Linked DNA regions of Homo sapiens: region 1 is linked to region 2. The links are contacts of gene promoters, found by promoter capture Hi-C in blood cells and fetal thymus (Javierre and others, 2016). All regions are on one chromosome and are shown on one strand. The core of a region is centred on a gene start or on the middle of the fragment in contact, and the rest is flanking DNA. Distances in the headings are between cores, read along the strand shown.

Region 1 (5,957 bases), core at 1,097-3,596, 100 kb after region 2:
TTGCTTCCATCCAAAAACTTTATTGAGTCTATATCAGAATCAGCCTCCAGGCCTTCTCATGTCACTTTCCCATCACTCTGTTCTTTGCTGTTCCCTGGTGGTTCTGACTACAAGGGCTAGGCCCTAGGACATCTGGTTTTCTTTCTTACCCCAGTCCAGCTCGCTGACTATCCTTAGCCCCTCTAATCCTACGATCCCCCCAACCTGGAGCCTTGGTAAGGAGTTGTGAGGTTTTCAGACTTGTCCATCCCTCCCTCTTCCTCACCCCAAGCTCCAGGCCTCTAGGCCTCAGATAGATCCTCCTTGGGAGGTGCTTCTCCTGGTGGGGCCTCCTCAGGTGCTGGCCTGCAGGCAACCCCTCCCTGTAGCCATGCTGTTTTCAGCATATCTTTCAGCCCACTGGGAAAGAGATAGCCCTGGGTCTCTCCTCCCGCATCAATGACCCCTCCAAGCCCCTCCAGTGCTGTTTGCAGGTACCGCAGGCCAAGGAGCACCAGAGCCTGTGGGGGAAGCAAGGGGAAAGAGTCAGGGAGAGTCAGCGGTTCCAAGAGGCCCAGGGTTGGAGGCAGGGAGGAGTCCCGGGTGGGAGGAGGTGTCAGATGCTTTGCTGACTCACCTGCAGTAGGAAGGTGACAGCCAGCATGCTACCCAGTGTGCCTGCCAAGTCCTGCAAGTGCTCCAGCAGCACCTCATGGCACCCTTGGGCCCAGAGGTTTTGGTTGGGTTGTCGGGGATCGAACAGGGGGTGGGCGTAGGAGTCTGAAAGACGGTTTTGCAGGCAAGGCCGGGGTGAGTGGGGGTTGCAACAGGAGAAAGGGACCCCATCAGTCAGGTATAGGCCTTCTACATTGCTCTGGATCCGGCTGCAAAGGGAGGGACAGAGGGGTTAGGATGTCTGGAGATAGAGGCCTGGGGGAGGGACTGAAGGGCACAGGTGTTCAGAAGGGAAAAAGAATAGTAAAACATTTACTGACTGCTGTACTATGTGCCAGCCAAGCATAATTCACATCTTCACAACAACTCTATCAGATAAGTACTATTATTTCCATTTTACAGGTGAAGGAATGGGCCCAGGGTGGTTTGGTAACATGCCCTGGGTTTCACAGCTAATAAATGGCAGAGCTGTAACCAGTCTCTCAGCCACTATGTTCTACTTATTGCCCCTCTGAGCGAGGTGGGGATTCAAGGCAGCAGGAGGGAGCCTGTCCAGGGAGGAGGAGGAGGAGGAAGGGAGACGCAAATCACTCACTCAGCCACATCCCGGTCACCGGGATCCAGGTAACGGCTGCTGACCCACTGGACCCCAAACCAATCCTTGTACCCGTGGCGCCCGCAGCAGTGGTACCTCAGTTGCAGCTCATCCACCAGCCTTTTGGCCTGACAGTGCCCAGGCACCTCTGTGTCCTTGTAGTGAGCCAAGGCAGTCACCAGGCCCTCCTCCAGCGCCTCATCCAGACTCCCAGGCAAAGCCAGGGCTAGCCCGAGGCCGACGACCAGGAGCCCCCCCCCACCAGCCGTGCCAGCCACCAGCAGCGGGCCCAGGACCCCTCGCCAGGGAGGGTATAGAGCTGCATTCAGACTTGCCCGGCTGGCTCCTACACCCACTAGTCCTGTGCCCAGAGCCACCGCGCCCGCTGCCAGGGCAGCCTGGGGCAGGACAGGGAACTGACAGGAGGGAGCCAGGAAGGTGCCAAGGTGCCTTAGCTGGACCAGGAGGTGCCCACTACAGAGGAGGATGACGCCACCAGCCAGCGCCAGCAGCCAGGAGAGGAGCCAGAGCCCTTGTGCCAGGCGGATGCGGGGCTGCAGGGGCAGCACCAGGGGCAACACCGGCGCCATCTCCCATCTCTGCCCAAGGGAATGCAGAGGTGTCAGGGATGGAAGCTGGCTGGGGCAGGATGCTGAGTCAGCCCGGCCCGGCTTGAGCTGGGCTAATGCCACCCTGACCCCAATACCCTGAGCATCCTCCCATCCTCAGCCCTAATAACCCGCCCCCCTGTCAGCCCCAATACAAGATGCCTTGGCCTTGCCCCTTACGAGAAACTCCGCCCCTAGGCCGAGGGCCCGTTTTGTGACCCCGCCCCTGCCCCTCGCGGAAGTGGTGGGGTTGGTCCGCTCAACCCTGAGGGGTTAGGGGCTGGGGGGCGGAGATATCGGGGCGGGCGCTCCCTTCCCCGTCCCCTGGGAATCCGGGGGCGGGGATCCGGGAAGGGCCTGGAGCCGGAGGCCGGGAGTAGGCCAGGGGGTCAGCCGGCTAGCCCCGCCCCCGTACTGAGCGGCGAGGCCCGGACAGGGAGGGGTTACCAAGCGGCCCGGCCCCCCCTCGGGCCCGCCCCCCCTCCCGCGCTTCCTGGCGGCTCCGCGTCCGGCGCCTGTTTGTGCTGCGGCGCTGTGGCACCGGACGGCCCTGCCACCCCACCCCCGGGAGCCGAGAGCGGCCCCGGGAGAGTCCGAGGGCCCGGGGGGGTCTGGAGACTGCGGCCCCGGGCCCACAGCGCCCCCTCCAGGCCCCTTCCCCGCGCCCGACAGCGCCCCCTCGGGGTGGTGGTACGGCGCCCTTCGCGCGCGCCCCGGGGTGCTTCCCCTTCCCCTCTCCCCGGCCGTGGCCCCCGCGGCTTAGACGCCTCCTCCGCCGCCGCCGCTCGGAGCAACCCGGGGGCCGGATGGACGGGGCCGCGGGGCCCGGTGAGTACGGGGCGGGGCGGGCGGCGTGCCCCTTCCCGGAGCGCCCGGCTCGTCGGGTTATGCCAGAGCTGGACGGCTGTCTGGAGGCGTCCCCGCGTGCTCCTCCGCCCCAGGGGCTCCGAGCATCCTCCACAGTTCCTCCGGTCGCCCTCCCTAGTTGCTTGGGTCTTGCTGTCACTTCGGGCTTCCCCAGCGTCATTCTACGCCCCACGTAACTCCGGGCCCCTCGATGTTTCCCTGCCCCCTGCGTTACTCCGGGCCTCTTCTCGTGGTATTTCAGGTCTTTTTCCTTCTGATCCCCACTGCCCCCTGAGACCTTCACTGTGACTCTGCTCACCACTCACACTCTCTCCTGTCACTCTGGATCTCTTTTCTTGTACTCTGGGTCCTCAGTATGACTCCATTCCCGCACCCCGTTCTCTCTCCTGGTGTTCCCCCGGCTCAGTTACTCAGCTTTCGCTGGAGACCTGAGCTTGCTGGGGGCGCGTGGGGAGGGCTGCGGTCCCTGCCCTCACCAGTGCGGCGCCTCTCTCTGTGGCTCCCACGTTCCTCGGCAGTACTCCATATTTCCCCCCCGGTACTCCATGGTACTCCCAGTCTTTGCGGAGGCTGAGACGGCAGCAGGAAGGGAGCTTTGCCAGGTTTCTCGCCTGCCCTGCCAGAAGGAGGCCCTTGATCCTTTACCACCGTCTCCTCCCCTCTGGACGAGCATTCAAGCCTGGGGCTGCCTGAAAGGGGCAGTCCTACCGGACACATGTAAAGTTGTGGGGAGACAGAATCCCCTCTACGCTTTCTTCAGGTGATGGGTACATTCTGAGTACCTCTTGCCCTTTTCCCAGGTGACGGCCCTGCTCGGGAGGCCCTCCAGTCTCTGAGCCAGCGGCTTCGGGTGCAGGAGCAGGAGATGGAACTGGTAAAGGCAGCCCTGGCAGAAGCCCTTCGCCTGCTGCGGCTGCAGGTGCCCCCTTCCTCCCTGCAGGGCTCTGGCACACCAGCTCCTCCGGGGGACAGGTATGCATGTCATCACACCCCATTTTTCCTCCTCCTTGGGGCCTCTGGGGCTTCAGGTTAATTCAACATCTCTCCAGCAGTCTTGCAGCCCCCCCAGGACTGCCACCCACGTGCACCCCTTCCTTGGTGAGCCGAGGCACCCAGACGGAGACAGAGGTGGAGCTCAAGTCATCCCCTGGACCCCCTGGCCTGAGCAATGGACCCCCAGCCCCTCAGGGGGCCAGCGAAGAGCCTAGCGGGACCCAATCTGAAGGAGGGGGCAGCAGCAGCAGTGGTGCTGGCTCCCCTGGCCCCCCGGGGATCCTCAGGCCCTTGCAGCCCCCACAGCGTGCTGACACGTAGGTGTCCTGTGGCCCTGTGGCGGAAGCTGGGAGGGGTGGTAGGATTGCAGAGTACAGTTGGAGGGAATGACCTTCACTATGCCCCCACCAGGCCGCGAAGAAATTCTTCCTCCTCCTCATCCCCCTCAGAGCGGCCTCGGCAGAAGCTCTCCAGGAAGGCAATCTCCTCCGCCAACCTGTTAGTGCGGTCCGGGAGCACAGAGAGGTGGGTGAGGCTTCCCCTCAACCCACCCCGCCCCAGGCGCAGGCTCTCGACTTTCCATATCCCTCACCTCACATCCCTGGTTGGGGTGGGGGGACCTGATTGCCCAACAGGAATAAAGAAACAAACACTTCTGGGGCGCCTGCTGTGTACCGGGCACTGTGCTAAACCCTCGACCTCCTCCATCTCAGTCAGTCCCCACAACATCCTTGGGGGTTAGGTGGTCTCATGCTGCTCATTGCACAGGTGAGGAAGCAGGCTCAGAGAGGGTAAGTCATTTGCCTGGGGTCACACAGCTAGAGTCAGGATTTGAACCTAACTCTTCCTGACTCCAGTTCCCCTACCCTTTCCACTACATCACAGCACACCTTCTGCGATCCCAAGAGGCTTTTCTAGAAGCTTCCATGGCTTTCATGGACGGCTGTCCCTAGAGCTTCAGCCCTCTTTCCGCTGGATCTACCAAGTACCAATCTATTAATACTTACTTCTAGAGGGCAAGAGGACATCCTAGTGGCCGGATGTAGTTGCCTCAGAGTATGTACGGGCCCCAGGACACCCGGATGTTCATTCTAGCCCTGTCCTTGGCCTGTGCTTTATTCTCTGAAGAGACAGTATCACTTTACTGTTATCTAACGACAGGAATCTCTGGAGAGATGTGGACTTTCTTGCTTGCCTCCCGGATCCCTGAGAGGCGGAGCTGGTGTACATTCTCGACTCCCTTTGGTCCCATTTTACGGATGGGGAAATGAAAAGGTCAATAGCGGGGCCTAGTGGCGCGCACGTGTAATCCCAGCTACTGGGGAGGCTAAGGCAGGAGAATTGCTTGAACCCAGGAGGCGGAGGTTGCAGTGAGCTGAGGTCGCACCACTGCACTCCAGCCTGGGCGACAGAGCGAGACTGAGGCCTGGTGGTCTGGAGGAGAGAAAGGGCTCTGGCACCCTGCACTGCCTCTTCCAAGCTTTGTGGCCTTGTGCTGTGCGCTCAGCCCCTTCAGCCTCAATCTTCTTATCTCTTAAATGGAACTAGAAGTCTCCATCTACTAGGGCCCTGATACTCACGAAGCAAACTACAGGCTTGCAGAAGTGACTGTGGTTTCTGCAGTGACCTCTTTTCTTGTGTCCTGCCCCTCCCCGCTTAGGTCTTGGGACCTGACCCCAATCCCTGTGCTTTCTCTCTTCCCAACAGCCGTGGGGGAAAAGACCCCCTCTCCAGCCCTGGGGGCCCTGGATCTCGGAGGAGCAATTACAATTTGGGTATGTAAAGAGGGACAGAGAGGAAAACTTGGATGGCAGGGTTAGGATTTGGGCTGTAGCCCCAGGAGCTATTTTGGGTAGGTGTGGTGGGTAGGGTTCTGCTCTGTCTTTCCTGGAAGGGGGTAGTTGACACCACCCCTTTTCTCTGTAGAAGGCATCTCAGTGAAGATGTTCCTTCGAGGGCGCCCCATTACCATGTACATCCCGTCTGGCATCCGCAGCCTTGAGGAGCTGCCGAGTGGCCCACCGCCAGAGACCCTCAGCCTTGACTGGGTGTATCCTGCCCCTTCCAGTCCCATGAGAACCACCTTTCTCACCTTGGGACCCCTCTTACCTTTACAGTTTCCTCCTGGGTCTGTGGGGACAAGGAGCCTTCTAGATCCTCTCCTACCATCATTCTGCTCTAGGCCCTGCCAGCCAGAAGCTCTGTCTTTCTCCCCTCTTCCTCCTCCTGCCCTTGATCTA
Region 2 (5,898 bases), core at 487-2,986:
TGCTCTCCACAGCAGGTAGGAGCAGGCAGGAGTGGGGACAGAGGGAGAGCTTGTGACTGGGACAGTGAAAATAAACGATTGGCTCTTATCAATCACTTGCACCAACTAACCGTTTGTATTTTCTTTACCGACCTTTCCCTTTTGGGATATGTGGTCTGGTGGGCTGGGAGGCTTACAGTGTCCCAACTCTCCATTTTCCTGTGCCTTTGTGCTGTTTGGCTGAGGCATGGAGACTGCCAGTGGGTGGTTCTATTTTACAGGATTCCCAGGCCAAGAAAGCCTGGGGACTGTCCTTGATGGCAGAGCAGAATAGCCTGCCCCTTCTATAGACCCATTGATTAATTCCTGTAAAATCTTGGGGAGAATGGGATTGCAGCCCTCAGCCTAAAGATTGTGATTTGCCAGTCTCTAGTCTCTGTCTTCCAAGGTTGAGAGAGGTGGGAGGTCTCTGAAATCATCCCTGTTAGAGTGTCTGTCCTCTTACAGTGCGAGAGAAGGAACGTTTCTCAGGGTTTCAGCTCACACGAAAACACAGCAGGATTCTTTTCACTGCAGCGGGATATGTATATAGGTGAATCCTGTGGTGTGGGCTCACAGGCCCAGGTGCTGAGAATAGCAACTAGCAACTATTTTCTACAGTGTGGAGGGCTCGTGCCCTGCTGGTTTTTTTGATACACAGGTAGAGAATGAATAGAAGAGGGGAGGGTGGTGGGGGGGGGTGGGAGGCAGCTCAGTGGGGCTGCTGAACCTTGGGAAGAGTGTGAGTGTGAACGTGTGTAAATGTGCGTGTGAAAGGGAGCACCCCTTCCCGACTTCTAGAAACAAAATTCCTTTTGGGGCGCTTTCCCTGTGTGTCCCCAGAGAGGCCTCTAGCCAGGAGCCTTCAGTTGGGATAGTTTCATTTGTGACTTTACCAATACCCTCCCAGTTCTTGATAGACAGCTGTAGGTTGCTGGGTTCAAGAATATGGGTGGGATATGGAATGCTCTTTCAATGTCTAGCTTCAGTTTTCATTCATCCTCCTGCTCAGCACTGTCAGCCAAGAGCTTACTCAGCAGACACCACATACTGCAGCAGTTCCTAGTGAGAAAATCTGTGCCACTAGAAAATGCTTCACTTCCATTTCCTCACCTGGGCAGTTCTCTGTTTAAAATTGTGGGCTGATTTGGTCTTCCTCTCCTCCTCCCACTGTTACTGCCCTGCAGCCCTTGTTCAGGTGTACAGACCCTTATTCTGGCCTCTAGTGTCCTTGTCTGTCATGACACACCCTTCCGCCCAAATACCTCTGACCCCAAGGCTGGAATGGGGCTGGTAGGAGATAAGTTTGCTTACTCATAGTCATGTCCTTTCTCTTGGCACCTGCTTCCCTGCGGTGTCCTCAAATGGATTTCTGTGTGGCAGTGGAGTGATTGCATGAATTTTTCTGTAACACATTAACTTTGTATTATTATTAAGGGAGTTTGAGAAAGCTTTGCTTATAATGTCAAGGCAAGGAGGTAAAAACTGGAGCCCAAAGAAATTCCCTTAGGGCAAGATTATGTTATAATAGAAAATTGAATTTCCTGAGGCAGTGGCTGCCACCCCTTTTCAGATGTTTAGTCCTGCAAATAGCATCTTTCTTGTAGTCTGTGACATGGATGGGGATGCTAGGGCCCTTAGGGGCAAGGGGACTAAACTAAATCAAGTTGAGTTTTTTTCCAGCAGGGGTTAGGGGAGGTACTCGCTGTTGATATTTGACACTAGAAAGTAATCTTTTTTACAAAACTGTTTTTCTAGGTGGGTGGAAAGTGAAACTGCCACATCCTTGTTGGTTTAGTCCAAGAGATCATTTGCAACAACAGTAGATGTCCGGGTTTTGTTTCTGTCTTTTTATTATGAAAAACTATGTTAAGGGGGAAAATGTGGATTATGGTAACCAGAGGAATCCCTAGCCTTGTTTTCCTTAGAAGACTTGTTTAGTGTTTTATCAGACGTCTGTTGTAGTTGTAGACAGGAAAGCTTGTGAGAAAAACACCACATGGAGCCTGTAAATGTTTTTGCACAACCTGTAAAGCATTCTTGGAAGTGGCCAGTAAAAAGGGGTTTTACCATTTAAAAAAAAAATGTAACTGTGTCATTGTTTACATCTGTAACTTTTTCCTCCCCTGTTCTCATTACACCATTCTGGCGAAAATGTAGGCAAAGTAGCTTCCAGTTTTAGAATAAATAACCATTTGGATTGAATTCACCCTATCTCCTGTGGCTGCACTGACTGGGGCGGAGGGTGTCACTGGGTTATTTATTCATTTTTTAATGCCTCTTTCTCAGGTCGCATGGGCTCCAACCAAGGAGGACTCTCCTCTTGCATGGTGGCTGCCGTTCCCTCCCTATTCTACCATGCCTTCACTTGGGAGCCAGCCATGCAGTCAGTTGACATGGGTGGGTAGTTATTAGTCTATTTAGTGCTTGCTTAGGCCAAGAGTCGAGCCATTGAAGTATAGGAAAATAAATTATAACTCACGACCTCTGTATTTGGCCTATGCAAAAACTAGTTGGATGCTTGAAGTTAAATGTACATTGTGGAGCCAAATAAGTATATTCATGAATAATTACTGCTAGGGGGAAAGCCCACTCATTCAACAGAAGTTTGATGGGGGTTATTTTCCAGTGAATCTGGAGAACGAGACGGTAAATTAAATTTACAACAGCGCCATTGCTTTTTTATTTTTTATTTTTATTTTTATTTTTTTTTTTTGACAGAGCCTCGCTCTGTTACCCAGGCTGGAGTGCAGTGGCACGCTCTCGGCTCACTGCAACTTCCGCCTCCTGGGTTCGAGCGATTTTTCTGCTTCAGCCTCCCGAGTAGCTGGGACTACACATGTGTGCCACCAGGCCCAGCTAATTTTTTTTTTTTTTTTTTCCTAGTAGAGACAGGGTTTCACCATATTGGCCAGGCTGGTCTTGAACTCCTGACCTCGTGATCTGCCTGCCTCAGCCTCCCAAAGTGCTGGGATTACAGGTGTGAGCCTCCGCTCCCAGCCACCATTGCATTATTAGCACTGAAATGATCCTAACGGCAGTTTCTAATAAATGGTCAGGGTCTTAAAGCTGAGATACCACAGGCTCATGACATCCAGTGTTCTGAAGGAGTAGTAGTATTGATGTAGATACTGCTCTAATTCCTACCCTCTGTATGTGACACGGATTCAGATACCCGGGTTTACAGTTTTGTACCCTGAAGGCCACCCTTAATTTTGGTAGCCATCTATTCTTTAGGACATTTAAGTTGCTGTTAGAGCTAATTAATCATTTTTTAAAGTGGTTAATCATAGCTCATGCCTGGTCTCTAGTTACTGCTTAAACCCCATTTTCCCACCTAGCGCTGTAGCCACGCAGTTATAATCTGATGGGTAGGAACATTGAGTGTGCAGAAAAATTGAAGAGAGGCGCTTTGTTTTGTTTCGTTTTGTTTTGAGACGGAGTTTCGCTCTTGTTGCCCAGGCTGGAGTGCAGTGGCACAATCTCGGCTCACCGCAACCTCTGCCTCCCGGGTTCAAGTGATTCTCCTACCTCAGCCTCCCAAGTAGCTGGGATTACAGGTACCCGCCACCACACCGGCTAATTTTTGTATTTTTAGTAGAGACAGTTTTCACCGGGTTGGCCAGGCTGGTCTCGAACTCCTGACCTCAGATGATCCGCCCGCCTCGGCCTCCCAAAGTGCTGGGATTACAGGCATGAGCCACCACGCCCGGCCGGCCAAAAAGAGGCTTTCTTAAAAATCAAGGTTACATTTATTAAACACTCTAATTTTTTTTTTTTTTATTTAACCATGTCTGAGCTGTTGTGGAAAATTTCACTTACTCCCCTGGAACTTGCCCAACACCGTGATACAGTGGGGGTGAGGGAGGCAAGGTGCTTGGTCCCTGCCATGCCACATTTGCCATTTAAGCATGTACAGTACAATCTATTCATTGGGTATTTGGGTGCCTGATATGTGCCATTATCAGGATACAGGGATTAAAACGGACCTGACCTGATTGATCCTTCCTGGAATTTTCACCGTGCCAAGAAGGAACTGAGGCTCCTCCGCAACAGAATGGGGGTAGGGTCCCACTCCAGGAGGGCAAACTTCTCCCGTTTCTTCATCTCTAGGATGAGGGAATTAATTAGAAGATCTCCAGGACTTCTTAGAGCTCAGAAGTTCCATCAACAGTAAAAAGTTGCTTGGGACACCTTAAGGTGACCCAAGTTCACTGGGTGTCCCTGGAATTCATGAAGATATCCTTAGGAGGCTAAGTTCAGTTGCTGGTGATAACAACCTTTCTTCCTTTGGTTTCCTTTATCCACTTTGCTGTCTTCTGTGCAAAGATACCTGGAAGCTGGAGGTAATGAGCTGTCCCTACTATTTCAAAGCAGCCTCCCTTCCCGAAGTATATCCAGGCACAAAACAGGAGCCAGCCTAGGCTTTTCCTGGGGAGGATGCGTCCCTGAGTTTAGGGGACCTCTAGCAGGAGCACACGTACTGGGATTGTTACGTTCTTTGTCTTGTCCCTGGTCCCATCTCGCCTCTGTGCACCCTTGGAAGGAAAAGATTCTAGGAGGCATTCTGGTGTTCGTAAACCTCCGCCATGTTTGAGTCCTGGAGATGACCATGACATGTTAAGCCTTAAGTTTGGTCCCTGCCCAGACAGCATGCTGGACTTTTGCAAGGCACATTAGGGGTGCGGCCACTGCTTTCTGGCTGCTGTGGCTGAATCGGCCTGAGGGGAAAATGAAAGCAAAAACAAGCCCCAGTTCTACTAGGAAACCCAAACTGAGCAACTTCAGGCTTATCCAGCTCCTGGGAAGACCAGGAAGCAACTGAGGAGCGGTGCACCGAGACGGACAGGGTCGGGGGTTAACCCCCTGCCGCTAATATTTCCGCTCCAAAGGGAGCCTCTCCTTTCTTGGCAAAATGTAGAAACCTAGATTCCCTCGCAAGATCCACGCGACCAGCGTCGGCCACGCTGTACTTCCTGGGGTCCCCTTGTTTAGTGATTCTTCGTTATGGCCGCCCGTGTGCCTTCGACTCAATCGGGAGGACACCGAAATCCAGATTTCGGGGTTGCAGGGCGCGGGCCCCGGCTTGGTTAGGGCAGGGGCAGCCATTTTGAGACCAGAAGAGGGCGGAAGGGACCATATTGAGAACGCCGGTTGCCTGGGGGCCGCCATTTTAAGAGAAGCCCTGTACGGTAAACTCCGTGACGTGGGGGCTGCCATGTTGGTACGGCCATCTTGGAATGGGAGTGGCTGTGGGCGCAGCCATCTTAGGTATAAAATCGGCTCCAGTCGCGGTAACTGAAGCCAAGCTCCGCCCCTACCCTCCTAAGAGTTCCTCTGCTGTACGACTGCACTCCCGCACCCTCCCCTAAATCCCCCCTCTTCGGCCTGTTTACCTTTTAACTTGGCTTCGTTGCACGTTTGTGTGTGTGTGTTTGCTCTTCGCAGCCTCTTGAGCGTCTTTTGTACTTAATTCTTACACTGTGGACGCTCTCTCGCGCCCGCCATCCCCCGACCCCTCTGATCTCCGATCCTTGACGATGTCTAGCCTGCATTGATTGGCCCTTTTCCCTGGGTATGGCAGATCTATTGCTTGATGATCCTCTCCCCCCAAGAATTCTAACACAGGAGCTGTCCTGAGGCTCTGGATGACTTTATTCTTCAAATGGCTTTACCCTCCCAGTAGCTCCAGGTGAGACTGAGAGCAAGAACCTGGCCCATCCCTCTCCATTGTCTGAGCAGGTCACCGAGGGAAGCGGGCAGGACGCGCTGGCAGAGTCTGACGGGGCCCTGCTGTGGGTGGAGCAAAGGGTGCCTCATATCTCTGGGGTGCTTGGGGTCGGCCACAAAGGTGGTAGGAAATGGGGTCGACAGATAGGT

Evidence for each region. Contacts are between HindIII fragments. The CHiCAGO score rates a contact against its expected background, and 5 or more counts as called.
Region 1: a contact is called between the fragment with the promoter of EML3 here and a fragment that was not itself captured in region 2, in 1 of 17 cell types (non-activated CD4 T cells). The highest score is 5.4, in non-activated CD4 T cells.

What each region holds. Positions count from the first base shown.
Region 1 is chr11:62,609,164-62,615,120 of GRCh38, reverse strand. It overlaps EML3 (EMAP like 3), which reads left to right and starts at 2,346. Exons shown (of 22, transcript NM_153265.3): 1 at 2,346-2,685; 2 at 3,525-3,696; 3 at 3,777-4,034; 4 at 4,129-4,242; 5 at 5,425-5,492; 6 at 5,644-5,767. The coding sequence starts at 2,664. It overlaps ROM1 (retinal outer segment membrane protein 1), which reads right to left and starts at 1,864. Exons shown (of 3, transcript NM_000327.4): 1 at 1,250-1,864; 2 at 617-863; 3 at 5-500. The coding sequence starts at 1,839. The coding sequence ends at 282. RefSeq lists enhancers at 1,870-1,929, 2,703-3,262, 3,263-3,821 and a silencer at 1,980-2,859. The HindIII fragment of the contact is 22,044 bases long and covers 1-4,640 here.
Region 2 is chr11:62,708,959-62,714,856 of GRCh38, reverse strand. It overlaps HNRNPUL2 (heterogeneous nuclear ribonucleoprotein U like 2), which reads left to right. Exons shown (of 14, transcript NM_001079559.3): 14 at 1-2,227. The region is part of intron 13 of HNRNPUL2-BSCL2 (HNRNPUL2-BSCL2 readthrough (NMD candidate)); the gene reads left to right. GNG3 (G protein subunit gamma 3) reads right to left here. Exons shown (of 3, transcript NM_012202.5): 3 at 5,656-5,898. It also overlaps a transcript of BSCL2 not described here. Among named protein-coding and RNA genes, the nearest start is that of GNG3, 4.2 kb to the right of the region's middle. RefSeq lists enhancers at 4,760-5,399, 5,530-5,898. The HindIII fragment of the contact is 529 bases long and covers 1,472-2,000 here.